Regions from separate parts of the Homo sapiens genome. Here regions 1 and 2 are each linked to region 3. The links are contacts of gene promoters, found by promoter capture Hi-C in human tissues and cell types (Jung and others, 2019). All regions are on one chromosome and are shown on one strand. Each heading gives the region's core, a stretch centred on a gene start or on the middle of the fragment in contact. The rest is flanking DNA. Distances are from core to core; before and after follow the strand shown.

Region 1 (3,179 bases), core at 606-3,105, 270 kb after region 3:
CTCCATAGCATTTTTAGTCGGAATGAATATTAATAATAGTAGCTTACATTTTGATTGCAACATATAAGTGCTTTATTTATGTAATTTATTAATAGTAAATACTATTTACATGTAATGTATGGTAATTTTAGAAGACATATCCTACTCCCTTTAAAATTTTTTTTATATTTAAGCAATCTACGATGAAGATTTTCTTGCTTTACAAAAACTATTCTTGGTTTTGGGTAGAAGGGGTATAATTTTTTTTTTTTTTAAACAGAAATGGGAATGCTGACTTTGTGAAATTGACCTTGTGAAAAAAACAATGTTTGCTTAATCTTTAAATTTTTTTTTGTTTTTTTCTTAGGGAACACCAGGCACTTATTTGACTTCTCATAATCAGGCTTCCTACACTCAAGAAACACCCAAGCCGTCAGTGGGATCTATCTCTCTTGGACTGCCACGGCAACAGGAATCTGCCAAATCAGGTCAGTGAGTTAATACAGTCATAATGCATCTACGTTTGTAGCATCACAGCCAGTAATTTAGTACTGGATTGTTTCATGTTTCTCTGCCTTTCCACAGCTACTTTGCCCTACATCAAGCAGGAAGAATTTTCTCCCCGAAGCCAAAACTCACAACCTGAGGGTCTGTTGGTCAGGGCCCAACATGAAGGTGTAGTCAGAGGTAAAATATGCTGGTTGGCAGAAATGTTAAACTTTTGTCCCCAATAAATTTATTAAAGTAAGTTATTAATATATTTTAATGATGGGCTTTTTTAACTATAGTCTTTAAATTCTAAATTTGTTTTCTTTCCATGTAAAAGTCATTTTAAAACCTTGAAGTTCCATGTTTCAGCAGTTCTTTAGTATTATTTTGGAAGTACATTTTAATAAAACAAACATGATGGGTTTTGTGCTGCTTTTTTCTTTTCTTCTTAGTTGAGTACTCTCCCAAGTAGGGGCTGTTTTTTTATGTTTTGGGGCAGGGGCTGGGGGTGTAATTTGCTAATAGCTTTGTTTGTATTCAGGTACCGCAGGAGCCATACAAGAAGGAAGTATAACTCGGGGAACTCCAACCAGCAAAATTTCAGTGGAGAGCATTCCATCCCTACGGGGCTCTATCACTCAGGTTAGTCACGATCATCTCTGATATACTCAACAGAAGCTCAGGAAAAAATGATAAATAATTCTTAGCACTTTGGCTATTTTGTGGCTTAAGTTCATTTTTCTGCATTATGGGACTGGGTCTCATAACCTAGATCTGCAAACTGTCTCCACAGAGACGTTAATGTGATCATTTTGACTACAAGCTATATTATGAATACTTTGGTTCATTTGAAAAGGTCACTTATTTGCAAACTGGAAAAAGAAATATGTTCTAATTGATGCAGCTCTTATTGTCTTCCTGGAAAAGCTTTTACCATGTGTTTAGCCTAAATAGAAATTGAGAAGAAAATCATTACGAATTATTTGCTTACTTTTGCCCTGGTGGAGATGTAGTTGTAGAATCTCAGTATGTGGGCTGCCTTGTTAGAATCTAATGCTAAACCAGGAAATGTGGATGGTATTAACAAAAGCACCAGAAGCCTTCCAATTTTGGGCTAAATACATCACCAATTTTGATTAATAAAATTTCTCTCAGTTAGTTGTTAATTTTAACTTGATACTTAAGAAGTTCTTAGCCTCTTTATGTATATGCATAAGAGGGAAAATTCTGTTTTGGGAAATCATTGTAAACAGAAACCTGTGCCTTGCATTTTCTAAAGTGTTCACTCATTGTCACAAGTTTTTTATTTGTCTAGTTACTATCCTCTAAGACAGTTGTTCTCAAAGTATGATCCCCACACCAGGAGCATCAGAATCACCTAGAAAATTGCTACACATATAAATTTTCAGATCTTACCCCAGATTTACTGAAACCCAACCCTTGTTGGTGGGGACTGGCAGTCTGTGTTTTCCCAAGCCCTTAGCTGATTCAGCTAGGGCTTTGCTGGCCAAGTGTGGTTTGTGCACCAGAGCATTGGCATCACTGGGATGCTTGCTAGAATAATGCAGAAATGTCAGTCCGCACTCTAGATCATGTGAATTAAAATCCCCATTTTACTGAGGTTCCCAGGTGATTTCTTTCTGAAATGTAGTTTACATACTACTTCCTTGTGGTTAAGTTAAAAACAGAAGAAAAGAAAGTTACATACTGACTCTTAAAATCTCTCTTTTTAGGCCAGGCGCGGTGGCTCACGCCTGTAATCCCAGCACTTTGGGAGGCCAAGGAGAGCGGATCACGAGGTCAGGAGTTTGAGACCAGCCTGACCAACATGGTGAAACCCCGTCTCTACTAAAAATACAAAAATTAGGCGGGCATAGTGGTGTGCGCCTGTAATCCCAGCTACTCAGGAGGCTGAGGCAAGAGAATCACTTGAACCTGGGAGGCGGAGGTTGCAGTGAGCTGAGATTGTGCCACTGCACTCCAGCCTGGGTGGCAGAGTGAGACTCCGTCTCAAAAAAAAAAAAAGTCTCCATTTATATTGGGTCAGTGTGTTTCTGTTTTAACAGCAAGCTAATACTTTAATATGGACAGAGGAAAGTAAATGGGCCTGTATGTATTATTCTTTCTCTTCACTCTGGCATCCAAACTGTGGGAAGAAAGAGTATGAACTGGGCCAAAGGAGACTAAATTTTATCTGTTTAAAATCTGTTTGTGCACTTGACATGAGTACTTCTGAAGTGGGCGTTAAGGATTTCTAGACACTTACTAATGAGTTCACTTAATGACTGGACAAGTAAGTGTATGTCTCTTATCGCTTTTCTTAAGCATATGGTATCAGATTGTGCTCTCTAGGGTTTTAGCAGTCCTCAGAGTATAGTGGTGACCCTAAATGTGAGTAAACTCAGTCTAGGCCTCTAACTCCTATTTTACACCAAGCTGCTCTCTCTTGCAAAATGCTCTACGTATTAGATTCTATGAACAATTTTCCTTGAAGGAAGGGCTCGCTGCTTAAAGGAAGGGTAAAAAGAATCATGGTCATTGGCAACTCCAGAGGAGGATTGATGATGGTGAAAATATAGATAACCTGACCTAAACTGAATCAGTGTCAAAACACAGAGGCATCCAAAGGCCTAACAACCTAGTAGTCAGTTTGATATTTGAAAGTTATTTTTCCCTCATATCACAATTTGAGAAAAAGTTGTAGTACTCTA
Region 2 (3,376 bases), core at 508-3,007, 320 kb after region 3:
ACCTCGTTTTATTGTGCTTTTTTTTTTAACTGAAGGTTTATGGCAACCCTGTGTCAAGCAAGTCTATCAGCATTATTTTTCTAATAGCATGGGCTCTCCTTTGTGTCTGTGTCATATTTTGGTAATTCTCACAATATTTCAAACTTGTTCATGATTATTATCTCTGTGATGGTGATCAGTGACCTTTGATATTACTATTGTAATTGTTTGGGGGCACCATGAGGAGCACCTGTATAAGATGGCAAACAACCCATAAAGGTGGTGTGTGTCCTGACTCCTCCACTGACTGGTTGTTCCCTGTCTCTCTCCTCCTCTGGCTCCCTTATTCCCTGACACACAACAATATTCAAATTCGGCCAATTAACCCTGCAATGGCTTCTAAGTGTTCAAGTGAAAAGAAGAATCACTAAGTCTGTCACTTGAAATGAAAAGTTAGAAATGATTAAGCTTAGTGAGAAAGGCATGTTGAAAGCCAAGACAGGCTGAAAGCTAGACCTCATGTGCCAAACAGTTAGCCAAATTGTGAATGCAAAGGAAAAGTTTTTGAAGGAAATTGAAAGTGCTATTCCAGTGAACACACAAATGGTAATAAAGCAAAACAGTGTTTCGTGACACACAGAAGATTTTAGTGGTCTGGATAGAAGACCAAACCAGCCACAACATTCCCTTAAGCCAAAACCTAATCCTAATCCAAGCCCTAACTCTTCAATTCTCTGAAGGCTCAGAGAGGCGAGGAAGCCACAGATGAGAAGGCTGAAGCTAGCAGAGGCCATTCAGAGGTTGAAGAAGCCGTCTCTGTAACATAAAAGTGCAAGGTGAGGGAGAAAGTGCTGATGAAGATGTTGCAGCAAGTTACTCAGAAGACCTAGCTAAGATCTTTGATAAAGGTGACTGCATTAAACAACAGATCTTCCATGTAGACAAAACAGCCTTCTACTGGAAGAGTCCAAAACTTCAAAAGACAGGCTGACTCTCTTGTTAGGGGCTAATGCAGGTGGTGACTTTTAAGTTGAAGCCAGTGCTCCTTTACCATTCTGAAAATCCTAGGCCACTTAAGAATTATGCTTGGTCTACTCGCCTGTGCTCTAGAAATGGAACAAAGCCTAGATGACAGCATGTGTTTACAGAATGGCTTGCTGAATATTTTAAGCCCACTGTTCAGACCTACTGCTTAGAAAAAATAATTTTCAATACTGCTCATTAACAATCCACTTAGTCACCCAAGAGCTCTGATGGAAAGGTTCAAGGAGATGAATGTTGTTTTCATGCCTGCTAACACAACATCCATTCTGAAGCCCATGGATCAAGGAATAATTTCTACTTTCAAGTCTTATTATTTAAGAAATACATTTCATAAGGCAATAGCTGCCATAGTGATTCCTCTGACGGATCTGAGCAAAGTAAACTGAAAACCTTCTGAAAAGGATTCACCATTTTAGATGCTATTAACGACATTTGTAATTCATGGGAGGAGGTAAGAATATCAACATTAACAGGAGTTTGGAAAAAGATGATTCCAGCTCCCATGGATAACTTGGGAGGGGATCAAGACGTCAGTGGAGGGAGTCACTGCAGGTGTAGGAGAAATAGCAAGAGAGGCCGGGTATGATGACTCATGCCTGTAATCCCAGCACTTTGGGTGGCTGAGGCAGTAGAATCACTTGAACCCAGGAGTTTGAGACCAACCTGGGCAACATGGTGAGACCCCATCTCTACAAAAATTTTAAAAAGTAGCCGGGTGTGGTGGTGTGTACCTGTGGTCCCAGCTACTTGGGTCTGAGGTGGGAGGATTGCTTGAGCCCAAGAAGTTGAGGCTTTAGTGAGCTGGTAAGCCGTGATTGTGCCACTGCAGTGCAGCCTGGGCAGCAGAGGTGAGACCCTGCCTTAAAAAAAAAAAAAAAAAAAAAAGAACAAGAGAACTAGTAGTGGAGCCTGAAGATGTAACTGAATTGCTGCAATCTCATGATCAAACTTGAAATGGATGAGGAGTTGCTTCTTAGGGATGAGCAAAGAAAGTGGTTTCTTGAGATTGAATCTGCCCCTGAAGATGCTGTGAACATGGCTGAAATGACAACAAAGGATTTAGAATACTACATTACATAAACCCAGTTAATAAAGAAGGGTTTGAGGGATCAACTCCAATTTTGAAAGTTCTACTGTGGCTAAAATGCTATCATTGCATGCTACAAATAAGTCTTTCATGAAAGGAAAAGAAATTGCCACAGCCATCCCAGCCTTTGGCAACCGCCATGCAGATTAGTCAGCAGCCATCAACATGGAGGCAAGACCATCCACCAGCAAAATAATTGTGACTTACTAAACCCTCAGTATCTCTGAGGTATGCCTGTAGTATTTTATTTCATTGAGTACCAGGATCTGGATTCTTCATGTTACCATTCTGCTTTTTTTTCATTTAGCAATATATAATCATTAGCATTTTGGTAATTTTTGAGAACTTAATATATTAATACTTTAACTTGAATTTCACTTTCAGGAGGAGTTTGCAAACCAAAGCTGATCAGCAAGTCAAACAGCAGGAAATCTAAGTCTCCTATACCTGGGCAAGGCTACTTAGGAACGGAACGGCCCTCTTCAGTCTCCTCTGTACATTCAGAAGGGGATTACCATAGGCAGACGCCAGGGTGGGCCTGGGAAGACAGGCCCTCTTCAACAGGTAAGGATTCTGCTTTAACTTAGAAAATGAGACAGAGCAATAATATCAATGTCTTGGTTATTAGTTCTTCAAAATTCAGCAACTCTTCTAATTTGGAAACCTATATTCCCATTTCTGTATCATTAATATGTTCCACTTTCCCGAATAGAAGTATTTTTTTGAGGGGTCTTGTTCTGTCACCCAGGCTGGAATGCAATGGCATGATCATGGCTCACTGCAGCCTCGACCTCTGAGGCTCAGGTGATCCTCTCACCTGAGCGACCCAAGTAGCTGGGACTACAGGCGTGCACGACCATGCCTGGCTAATTTTTTTCATTTTCATTTTAATTTTTATTTTTTGTAGGGACAAGGTCTCACTACGTTGCCCAGGCTGGTCTCGAACTCCTGAACTCATTCCTCCTGCCTTGGCCTCACAAAGTGTTAGTATTACAGGAGTCAACCAATGCACACACCCAGAATAGAAACTGAATGCACATATAACCTGAAACATTTTTAGAATGCAAAGCCTGATTACCATAAACAAAGGAAGAGCTATGAAAAAATAATCTCAACCATTCTCCTCACTTCTGTATTACACTGGTAGCGAACATTGACTATTTGCAAAGCAAATAAGGTGGTTTTAGTTCTTTTGAGAACTGTACCTGAATGTACCCATGCCACTTCTAAGAGTACTTCACCTTTCATATTGGTATTCTTAGAAAA
Region 3 (2,982 bases), core at 390-2,889:
GGTGGTAAAAGAACAGTGATCGCCTCTGTTTTCTTTTGCCTGAGGGAAACTCTGGTGTGCTGAAAATGTTCTGTATCTGAAGTGGTGGTGGTCACATAAGCTGTACATCTAAGATATTTGCACGTTGCTGTGTGTAAACCATAATTCCAACAACAACAACGACAAAATGGCAAGGTGGGGCTCGGTGGCTCACGCCTGTAATCCCAACACTTGGGGAGAACTAGGCGGGAGGATCGCTTGAGGCCAGGAGTTAGAGACCAGCCTGGGCAACATAGGGAAACCCGGTATCTACAAAACAACAATAGCAACAATTCGCTGGGGCGGGGGGGGGGGGGGGGGGGCGCCGCCTGTTGTTCCAGCTACTCAGCTACTCCAGAGGCCCAGGCGGCAGGATCGCTTGAGGCCAGGAGTTCTTGGCTACACTGAGCCGAGATCCCGCTACTGCACTCCAGTCTGTCAGATCCTGTATGGAAAAAAAAAAAAAAAGACAAAATAGTTAAACTATGCCTTTAATTCAATAAACTATTAAACTAACAATACCATGAAGAAAATCAGAATAAAGAAGAAAGATAGGCTGACGCAGGAGAATCGCTGGAACGGTGAGGCGGAGGTTGCGTGAACCGAGATCGCGCCACTGCACTCCAGCCTGGCGACAGAGTGAGACTCCAAAAAAGAAAAAAAAAAAAAAAAAAAAAAGAAAGATAGGCTGGGCCCGGTGGCTCAGGCCTGTAATCCCAGCGCTTTGGGAGGCCGAGGCGGATGGATCACCTGAGGTCGGGAGTATTCGGCACCAGCCTGACCAACATGGTGAAACCCCGTCTCTACTAAAAATACAAAATTAGCCGGGTGTGGTGGCGAATGCCTGTAATCCCAGCTACTCAGGAGGCTGAGGCAGGAGAATCGCTTGAACCTGGGAGGCGGAGGTTGCGGTGAGGCGAGATCGCGTCACTGCACTCCAGCCTGGGCAACAAGAGCGAAACTCGGTCTGAAAAAAGAAGAAGAAGGAGAAGGAGAAGAAGACTATCTGGGTTCCATCAACGATTCTCGTGCCTTTTGTCTTTAAACTTTGGTGCTGCCTTCATCAAAATCATACTAATGAAATTCGACGCGCGGGTCATTCATTTAATTAAAATGAAACCCCAAATCTGTTGACTATTGGTATCCTCATGACACTGTTCTATAATGTGACAGAAAAGACGAAGGTGAAGAACTATGGTTTCGGCCGCTGTTACACAGGAGGTAGCAGGTGGCAGGCCGTTTACACAAATTAGCTCGTTTTTGGAGACGAAGTTACCCCAGGCTGCCCGCTCGGATGAGCCTGCGAATTCAGGCCCAACCCAGGCCCCTCCAGGTCGGGAAGGTACGAAGAGCCCGCTGGATTCACACAGGGCAGGGGCGCCTTCGCAGGTGCGAGTGGATTCTGGGTATCGCGAGCGTAGGCCCAGGCGCAGCCCCTCTGCCTGCGGGACTGAACAGGCAGGTGCGTCCCAGCGGCCGGGCGGGCCGGGTCTCCCTCCTGCGGGCAGGCGCCGCGCTGCGGGGCGCGGCTGGCGGAGCGGGGCAGCCGGGCGCAGCGCCCCCTGGGCCTGAAGACTGGCGGGCGGCGGGGGCGCGCGCAGGCCGGCGGGGGCGCGCCGCGCTGCGAGGCCTGCGCGCCAGGCTGCGGGAGCCATGCGGCGATCGAGGAGCTCTGCGGCCGCCAAGCTGCGCGGGCAGAAGCGGTCCGGGGCCTCCGCGGCCCCCGCGGCCTCCGCGGCCGCTGCCTTGGCACCCAGCGCCACCCGCACACGGCGCTCCGCTAGCCAGGCCGGGAGCAAGAGCCAGGCGGTGGAGAAGCCGCCGTCGGAGAAGCCGCGGCTGAGGCGCTCGTCGCCGCGGGCCCAGGAGGAGGGCCCGGGGGAGCCGCCGCCGCCTGAGCTGGCGTTGCTCCCGCCACCGCCGCCGCCGCCGCCGACTCCCGCGACCCCGACGTCCTCGGCGTCCAACCTGGACCTGGGCGAGCAGCGGGAGCGCTGGGAGACGTTCCAGAAGCGGCAGAAGCTTACCTCCGAGGGTGCCGCCAAGCTCCTGCTAGACACCTTGTGAGTGCGGCGGGCCGGGGGGCGCGGGAGCCGTTGCCACGCGGACCCCCTCGGCAGGAGTCGGGCTCGCAGCCCGCGTGCAGGCCTTGGGCGCCTTTCAGCTCTGAGCCTTCCACGTTACGGAGCCGACGCGGCTCCCCCGTTAGCACTGGGGTTATTCCTTAATTCTAAGGGCGGCGGGGCGGGGCGGTGCTTCTAGGGCTGTGTGGCCTGGGAATGGAAAGGGGGCTTCGTCCGGAGCTTGAGGGCGCGCGCAGCCGTCTTGGGACACAAAGAGTCTTTCCCGGCCATAAGCATCGTGCTCGGGGACGTTGTCTCTTGCTGGCGCGCAAAGGGTGTGGGGGCCTTTCTTAGTGAAAAGAACATAAATCCCACGGCTTTCTCTTACCCGAATCCCCTTTTTTTTTGTGTTTGCACACGTGTTTTTGAGGGTGGGTGGAAGGGAAAGGTAGAAGCGTTGAAGGAAGCATGAATAGTTTTGAACTCACTGGGAAGCAAAATCCCGTCATTGTTCCAGGCACTGCCAGGGAGGGAGCAGGGGGCGGAGGTTATTGATCCGGGAGAGAAGCGCGCGCGAAGAGATGCTCCGGCCTCGCGCGGCGGCGGGGATACCTACGTAGGGAGGCTTTTATGTGCTCAGCCAGCTAATGCTCCCTGCCGCTCGCCCTCCTGGCTGCTCCGCAGTCTTTTAGATGGCCCGAGGAGCATCTCGAGTGTCCGCGATTTGGGAAAGAGCTTTTAACTGGGCTGTTAAAGGGCTGCCTTCTTTTCTCCAAATGCGATCTGGATTCCTGCCTCGGGGAACAGTTGTGCTACAGAGAGATATTTTAACGCCCTGATATTATATTTCAGTGTCAATTTTACGAATTAAAAAGAACAATCAAAACACTAGGGGGAAAAA

Evidence for each region. The method cuts DNA at HindIII sites, captures the fragments that hold promoters and counts their contacts. A contact is called where the count stands out against the background at its distance.
Region 1: a contact is called between a fragment that was not itself captured here and the fragment with the promoter of CENPV in region 3, in 1 of the 25 tissues and cell types used here (aorta).
Region 2: a fragment that was not itself captured here is called in contact with the fragment with the promoter of CENPV in region 3 in 2 of the 25 tissues and cell types used here (adrenal gland and hippocampus).

The regions. Positions count from the first base shown.
Region 1 is chr17:16,077,895-16,081,073 of GRCh38, reverse strand. It overlaps NCOR1 (nuclear receptor corepressor 1), which reads left to right. Exons shown (of 46, transcript NM_006311.4): 24 at 347-467; 25 at 565-666; 26 at 1,010-1,110. Among named protein-coding and RNA genes, the nearest start is that of SNORD163, 74 kb to the left of the region's middle. The HindIII fragment of the contact is 6,091 bases long and covers 1-3,179 here.
Region 2 is chr17:16,034,063-16,037,438 of GRCh38, reverse strand. NCOR1 (nuclear receptor corepressor 1) reads left to right here. Exons shown (of 46, transcript NM_006311.4): 45 at 2,495-2,674. It also overlaps a transcript of TTC19 not described here. Among named protein-coding and RNA genes, the nearest start is that of TTC19, 36 kb to the right of the region's middle. The HindIII fragment of the contact is 6,456 bases long and covers 1-3,376 here.
Region 3 is chr17:16,352,126-16,355,107 of GRCh38, reverse strand. It overlaps CENPV (centromere protein V), which reads left to right and starts at 1,639. Exons shown (of 5, transcript NM_181716.3): 1 at 1,639-2,081. The coding sequence starts at 1,672. RefSeq lists silencers at 1,430-1,579, 1,640-2,249. The HindIII fragment of the contact is 38,840 bases long and covers 1-2,946 here.